2 separate regions of the Homo sapiens genome follow, and region 1 is linked to region 2. The links are contacts of gene promoters, found by promoter capture Hi-C in human tissues and cell types (Jung and others, 2019). All regions are on one chromosome and are shown on one strand. The core of a region is centred on a gene start or on the middle of the fragment in contact, and the rest is flanking DNA. Distances in the headings are between cores, read along the strand shown.

Evidence for each region. The method cuts DNA at HindIII sites, captures the fragments that hold promoters and counts their contacts. A contact is called where the count stands out against the background at its distance.
Region 1: a contact is called between a fragment that was not itself captured here and the fragment with the promoter of SGSM3 in region 2, in 1 of the 25 tissues and cell types used here (dorsolateral prefrontal cortex).

The regions. Positions count from the first base shown.
Region 1 is chr22:40,529,517-40,533,681 of GRCh38, forward strand. The region is part of intron 3 of MRTFA (myocardin related transcription factor A); the gene reads right to left. Among named protein-coding and RNA genes, the nearest start is that of MRTFA-AS1, 9.8 kb to the left of the region's middle. The HindIII fragment of the contact is 3,323 bases long and covers 331-3,653 here.
Region 2 is chr22:40,369,079-40,373,103 of GRCh38, forward strand. It overlaps SGSM3 (small G protein signaling modulator 3), which reads left to right and starts at 1,516. Exons shown (of 22, transcript NM_015705.6): 1 at 1,516-1,610. It overlaps ADSL (adenylosuccinate lyase), which reads left to right. Exons shown (of 13, transcript NM_000026.4): 13 at 1-289. RefSeq lists an enhancer at 1,202-1,411 and silencers at 1,562-1,671, 1,732-1,901. The HindIII fragment of the contact is 4,461 bases long and covers 9-4,025 here.

The DNA.
Region 1 (4,165 bases), core at 742-3,241, 160 kb after region 2:
ATGTTGGCAAGGCTGGTCTCGAACTCCTGACCTCAAGTGATTTGCCCACTTCAGCTTCCCAAAGTGCTGAAGAAATATTTTTAATAATAAAACAAATATTTTCAAATAGATAACATGTATGTGGTATAAAACCAAAAAGATTTTAAAGTACACAGTTTAAAAGCATTTTCTGAAGGATAAATCAAACAGAACACTTAGAAAACTTGAGTGTATAGGTTGTGCTGTATTTCTTAGGCTGGTTAGTAGGTGTGCATTAATCAAATCTTATAATACTTTATATATTCTTTGGCATTTATGGAGTACTCTAATAATCATAACAACAAAAAGTCTCTTCCACCCCAGTCCCCCAGTTCTCTATTCCCCTTTATTGAGGCAGCCAGGGTTACCAGCTTCTGTGGTCCTTCCAGAGACATCCTGTGCATGGACAAATGTGTGGGTGTGCATACATACATGCACAAGACAGAGAGAGAAAAAACAAAGTGACTCCCTAACTATGCCTCATTAAGATCAGATTTATGTCGTGGGACCAAAGCATACCTAAGGAACTGTCTCAACTGTTTTCTCTACAAGTGAATTCTGTCCTGCTGTTGTTATAACTAAGAGGACTGCACTAGATGGATACACCTTAGGGCCTGTCTAGTCAAAGCCTTACACATTAGCTGTCAAGAGCCAAGTCCTAGCATTTCTCCATTCTAAAACACACCAGAGTCAGTACCATGCCCCAATATTCCCTAAGACTTAGCTTCTGAAATTCCATAATGTCCATCTTATTTGTTTTGTTGTTTTTGTTTTTGTTTTGAGGCAGGGTCTCGCTCTGTCGCCCAGGCTGGAGTGCAGTGGCACAATCTCAGCTCACTGCAGCCTCTGCCTCCCAGGTTCAAGCAATTCTCCTGCCTCAGCCCCCCAAGTAGCTGGGACTACAGACATGCACCACCACACCTGGCTAATTTCTGTATTTTTAGTAGAGATGGGGTTTCACCATGTTGGCCAGGCTTGTCTTGAACTCCTGACCTCAAATGATCCACCTGCCTCGGCTTCCTAAAGTGCTGGGATTACAGGCGTGCGCCACCGCGCCCGGCCCCATAATGTCCATCTTAGATCATTAATTATCTAAACAAAATGATTCAGATATGTTTCCATAGTAGTGAGAAAAGCTCTAACTGTGGTTTGATTAGAACACTTAGATTCAGCAATAAACATCACAGGCAGACATGACATACTGCACATTCTGAGATGCAGAAGAATTCCAACTTTGAAAGCTATTTTTCAACAACATCTGCTTTGGACAAGGATTGGCTAAAATACAGGATGGTGGGTAGAAGATTCATTTCTTAATATAAGAACAGATCTCAAAATACTTCGATAAAATCTTGATTTAAAAGCTTATACTTATCAGGGAAAGTATGACAATCCAAATTTCATCACTCTCATTCATTCAAAAATACTAAGTACCATGTGCCAGTATCAGAAGCCAATATATAGATTAATATATTGCCCTTGAGAAGCTAATAATCTAATTAGGAAGACATATACATCTGGCTGGTTCCAAAGGACCAGTAAGAGACCACCAGCAGTGAGGAGGATGAAAGTTTTATTTTTTGAGACAGAATCTTGCTCTGTCGCCCCAGTTGGAGTAGAATGGCATGATCATAGCTTGTTGCAGCCTCGACCTCCTGGGCTCAATCGATCCTCCCACCTCAGCTTCCCAAGTAGCTCTGACTACAGGTGGGCACCATCATACCTGGCTTTTTTTTTTTTTTTTTTTTTTTAATTTTTTGTAGAGATGGGTCTTGAACTCTTGGGCTTAAGCGATCCTCCTGCCTCAGCCTCCTGAAGTGTTGGGATTACAGGTGTGAGCCACCATGCCAGGCCTGAAAGTTTGTATATAACATACATGAACATGTCTCACCAAAACCCCCAAGCTCCAAATATTCAAATGAAAATTGTTCATAAATATAAAACATACCCTGGAACTTTGCTATCATATTCAATATCCTGAAGTTTTATTTAGGGTAAAACTTTCCATCCTGAATTCTGTCAACAAGGTTTAGTTACTTTAAAACTCTCATTAAATAGCAGTCTCACCTATAAAGCATATATTCATATAGGTTAAAATATTCTATTGCTAGAAAACCTATGGCTCATGTTTATCTACTGATAAAGCCCAAAAGTCTTGACTTTTCAGAGAATGGCTTTTAGTTCACTGAGGCTTCATAACAGATGCTTTTTCATTTCCTATCATAAAGAGAGACAGTATTTTACTATACAGCTGTCATATTACTGTTACAATCCAGCTAATGGCTACAGCACTTCAGAACAAAACAGTAGCAATTTTACAAAACCAACACATTGTTAATGTTTTTGATCATATAGGAGACAGGTACTGGAGATATCAGTTTGCTATTACCCTTTCTATATCCAGAGTCTCTCCACTTTTACGAACATAAACAAAAGAAAGAAGTCCACATACACGCTACAGCAGACCCTTCATTCTACCTGCATCCAACACTCTTGTCAATTTCATTTCACCTACTATCATCCTTTGAAAGTTTTATGAAGTAGCTGGTCCAACAGATGGGTGGCTAGCCCTGCCCAACACATGACGAAGGAAAAACAGCTCTTAGCAAGCAAGACAAGAAAATATTAAGTATGTCCCTTTCCCTCTCAAGGCTGAGAACACTGAGACTACCTGAGAAGAAAGCAAACAATCTTTTAACCTTTATAAAGAAAAGTTACTGGACTGAGATGATCTGTAAGTAACAAGGTGATTTTAAAAAGGGAGAGAGTTCAAATGCTAAAATCTACCCCTCAAGATAAAACAGGCACTTGCCCACACATAGCAGAGAACTGGAATAGACAGGAAAAATAAATAAATCCAAATTAGTTTAACTGGGAGCTTTTTCATCAAAGACAGATGGGAAACATTCAGATAAGCACACTATCTTGTTTAGAACACAAAGCTCAATAGATCTGTAGGAGGAAAAGGAAAGGCAACCTGAAACACATAGCCTATATGCATAAAAAATGACTCATTATGGTCATATTAGTAAAACCAGAAAGAACAAAATGGTAGTGGTATCTGTCTTCTTTGCCCCTTCCCTGATCATAAGCTTTATTAACCAGATAGCATCTGATCCTGTCTTCAACTGATGTATATCTGTCTTTCAACATACTACCTAAAATGCTCCCCAAGGAAAACAGTGAGACCAATTCTGCCAGAGACAGTATCTGCCAGAACCAAGAAGTCTTATTTTCCTTTGAGTGAAAGCCAGTGGATGGGGAAGAGGTCCCCAAATGCCACTTGTCTGAATCTTTTAAGATATGCTCTGAAACAAGAAAACACTACAGATTACATTTTAGTAGAGATCTAAAAATAGCAAAAGAACATTCCCTATTTTTAGATATCTGACTTCCAAGTGTAAAAACACTAAAAGTAAAAGAAACCACTGAAAACTAACTATATTTTTAAAAGGGTTTTAAAAACTCTGAATTGGAAAACTGTTTTTAGAGATAAAATTTCAAAAATCCTCCCCTGTGTTGACTGACTCTTTGCTCAAACTTACCCATCTCCAAAATTTAGTCCTAATCCTATGTGTTATTAAGGGCATTTCCACAGAACCAAAAGATGGTACAGAAAGGTTATACCACAAACAAGAAAGAACAGCTAAGAAAAAAAATTTAAAGATGCTTTCATAAAAACATAGAGTCTAGACTAGTGATTAAAGACAACAATGTATAAAACAGCAAAGCAATTTAATTGTCTTTCATTTAAAACAGTGCCACAGACAATACAACACTTGATTAAAGAAGACAAAGAGTTTTTTTTCTCAAACAGGTCTCCGCAACTGAATAATCTTAAAACCAGTAACCATCTAATTCAAAGCTGTCAGAATAACTAGAATTTGCAATGAGAGAAAAATTAATAAAAAACTGAAAATGCAGTACATTTCTTCCTCCCCATTTCTGTCCACTCCTAGTACAAATATGACCCATTTTTTTTAAAGAAGCCTGTGGCAAATAAGATTTGTAGGAAATTATTAGCAAGTTAGGAAATTAGGATTTATGTGAATTACCTGACTGTACTGCCATCATTAACATCTCAGGTTCCAGTAGAGTCATGACGGATTCTTCCAGAAACAAAAATCCACAAATATAATGAAGAAAG
Region 2 (4,025 bases), core at 266-2,765:
TATATTACATAACAGATACTGGGGATATAGGATACCATGGATTTTAGTTAATACATTTCCTCATAGAAAATAAGGAAATAACAGTCTTGTTCCTGTCCTAACAATTCTGTTAGACTAATGATCTCCAGTGATTGGCGATTTGACCTGGTTTCTTCCTGGACTATTTGAATGGGTGGATTTGTTGGTGCATCTCTTGTCTTCTTTCCTTTTCCATTCTCCTTTATTTTTGTATTTACATACTTGTATGCAACTTTGTAATCTGATTTTCCCATGTAACATTTTAATTTGATGGGTGGTCTGCGTGTTCACTGGAAAACATATATATATTAAATGTACATTTATGTATATATATAAAATATACATTCATATATATTATATATAATATACATTCATATATATTATATATAATATACATTCATATATCTATCTTTTATATATATATATAGACAAGATCTTGCTCTGTCGCCCAAGCTGGAGTGCAGTGGCATGACCACAGTTCACTGCAGCCTTGATTTCCTGGGCTCAAGCGATCCTCTCACCTCAGCCTCTTGAGTAGCTGGGACTATGGCACACACAACCACACGTGGTTCATTTTTTGTTGTTTTTTGTAGAGACAGGGTCTCACTCTGTTAACCCAGGCTGTTGTATTTTCTTTAAGATTGGTTTAAATTCACACGGACTCCAGCATCAGAACTACCCAGATGTCAGGTTCTGGGCAGAACTTGGGGCAACTGATGAAATGTCTGCTCAGCTGAAGTCAGACACCTGGACACTTAATGCCCTCTTTCCCTGGCTGATGCTCAGTTTCATTTAAGAACCAGGAGAGCCTGATGTTTGTAAACACAGCTTTAGTGGAAGCACGAGGGTTAGGAGTCCCTAGAAAGGTGATATGAAGCCTAGGTGGATGTGAGGGTTGGTGAGATGGGAATTGCACAGCATAGAATCTGACACAGAAGGTACTCAGAAAATTTCGTTTTCCGGCCTGGCGCGGTGGCTCACGCCTGTAATCCCAGCACTTTGGGAGGCTGAAGCGGGCAGATCATCTGAGGTCAGGAGTTCGAGACCAGCCTGGCCAACATGGTGAAACCCCGTCTCTACTAAAAATACTGTACTAAAAATACAAAAAAATTAGCTGGGCGTGGTGGCGGGCGCCTGTAATCCCAGCTACTCGGGAGGCTGAGGCAGAGAACTGATTGAACCTGGGAGGTGGAGGTTGCAGTGAGCCGAGATCACGCCACTGCACTTCAGCCTGGGTGACAGAGCGAGACTCCATCTCAAAAAAAAAAAAAAAAAAAAATTAGCAAGTTATTTGCAGCGTCTATCTCCCACCACCCTGACTGCTGGTCCACACCATACTGTCCCAAGCTTCTCAGGCTGCGGTGCAGACGAAGAAATCATCGCTATGCATGCTGGCCTTGGGATGGGGGCGCAAAGCCCCTGGACGCGCCCCGCCTAGTGGGCGGGAACGACTACAGCCCCCAGCATGACCCGCGGCCGCCCATGCCACGCCCCGCCACGCGTGCGCTTAGGCGCCGCTGAGCGCTGACTGGGTGCGAGTGGGGAAGCTGCTAACCCGACCCGGATTGGCGCTGAGGTGGCCCGTGGGGCAGGTGAGTGCGGGGCGGGAGTCAGCGGAGACCCACCGGCGCCTACAAGTTCCCCTCAGGCGGGGGCTGCGGGGCGGCTGTGGTCGGACTGTCCGACCGAGGGTCGTATGGGCCGAAGGCGCCCACGAGAGAAGCACCGCCTCGGGCCGGAGAGCCGCCGGGCCGACCTTGCTCGCGTCGCCGTTGGAATGGGGGCCGGGGACGCGGCGGGGCGGGGAGGTCGGCTGCGTCCTCCGGTGCGGCCGCCCCTAGACGGCCGAGGCCACCTCAGGTGTTCGGGGCGCCAGCCGGAATCCACCGCGCTGGCAGCCGGGAGCGGTTTTACGAAAACCGCGCCTGAGGCGGGGGGCTTTCTAAAAAGAGCCTGGCTGGCTCTGGCACCGGGACAGCTGCAGACTCCTCCTCAGGTTTAACTTGCGGTTTTCCCTTTAAGATTCAGATCCAGGTGCAGAACCCGGGCTCGGATCCAGGCCCGAGACTCGGAACACCGGTGTGTTTGCATTTTAGCACGGGGGAAACTGAGGCATACGTTAGCCAGAATCATCCGGTGTGGTTAGGACTGGAATTTTGAAAATTATTCTCATACTTAGTTTACTGACCTAGGCTCTTTTTTATTTGGAAAGAAAAATAAAGATGTTTCAAAGGTTGTTTTCAGTGACTGGGTGACTAGTGTATCTTCCAGTCTCACGCTGCACGTTTGTGGTGGGTTGATGGCTCTTTTTTGTTTTGCGGTGGGATAGAGATGTCCTGGAATGTTCTACACCTTTCTTATTCTTTCTTAGTAAATTCAAGTCAAATCAGACTCTGATTCACAAAAACTCATTTTCAACTTCGACTCGTTTACTCGTAGTTTTTGTGACAGGTTTGTGATTAGGTTTATAGGTACATATGTTTCCCGCTTTTCTTGCTCTTTTAGTTCCAATTATCTCTGCACTCTAAACAGTTGAATTACATCTTTGTTTTTACACTATTTCTGTTCTTGGTGATTAATTTGTAATTCTTCTTTTCTTTTCTTTTCTATTTTTTTTTTAAGACGGGAGTTTCGCTCTTGCCCGGGCTGGAGTGCAATGACATGATCTCGGCTCACTGCAAGCTCCGCCTCCCGGATTCAAGTGATTCTCCTGCCTCAGCCTACCGAGTAGCTGGGATTACAGGCGCCCGCCACCACGCCCGGCTAATTTGTGTATTTTTAATAGAGACGGGGTTTTTCGCCATGTTGGCCAGGCTGGTCTCGAACTCCTGACCACAGGTGATCCGCCCGTCTCGGGCCTCCCAAAGTGCTGGGATTACAGGCGTGAGCCACTGCGCCAGGCCCGATTAATTTGTAATTCTATAGATATCTTTCCTGGCTTTTGATAATCCTAAGTGAATGTAGCTTTTTCATCCCTAATTATCATAGTAGCCTGAGCTTTAGTTCTTCTCCCTGTCCCCCCCCCCTTTTTTTTTTTTTTTTTTTTTTGAGACGGAGTCTCGCTCTGTTGCCCAGGCTGGAGTGCAGTGGCGCGATCTCGGCTCACTGCAAGCTCTGCCTCCCGGGTTCACGCCATTCTCCTGCCTCAGCCTCCCGAGTAGCTGGGACTATAGGTGCCCGCCACCACACCCGGATAATTTTTTGTATTTTTAGTAGAGACGGGGTTTCACCGTGTTAGCCAGATGGTCTCGATCTCCTGACCTCGTGATCTGCCCGCCTCGGCCTCCCAAAGTGCTGGGATTACAGGCGTGAGCCACCGTGCCTGGCCCTCCCTGTCCCTTTTTAAGCGTGGAGGTGTGTGGTCTGGGAGGGGAGAGGGTGAGGTGTCTATTGATCAGATATGGGTAATAGGTTAACATAACCCATGACCAGAACATTAAAAGGCTGTAAACAAACAATTGCTTCAATATAAAAACGCATACCTCGTGAATTTGGAAACATGTCAGGTTGATAGAAAAGTGAACTCGGGTAGAACCTCACAGAAATGAACCCGACATTAGGGTGAAATATTGAGAAGGGAAGGGAGGAGATAATCATCTCTTTTATTTTACAGCCATCTTTCTATGCCTGGAGTGGATGTAGGAACAGCCTGCTGGCTCAGAAGCTTAAAAAAAGCTCTGTGTGTTTTCAGTTTTTCTCTTCTTAGTTCTCAATGAAGGTTTTGGCAGGAGCCCAAAATCTTGTACATTTGATAATTTAACATCAGTTTCATCTGCTTACTCTCCAGATAGCCTGTTATTCAGCTGGTGACGTCAGTAATTTTCCACAGCAGCCATTCATGAGCTCATGCAGACTGTCACAAGGAAATGGGAATAGCACAATGAGTGTTACAGAAGAAAAAAAGATCCTGTTTCTTTGCCATCACATATTATACACAGACTTAGGGAATCTAGACTGGAGCACAAGATATGTGGGAGGGGTTAGAACACCACTCCTACCTGTAGTAA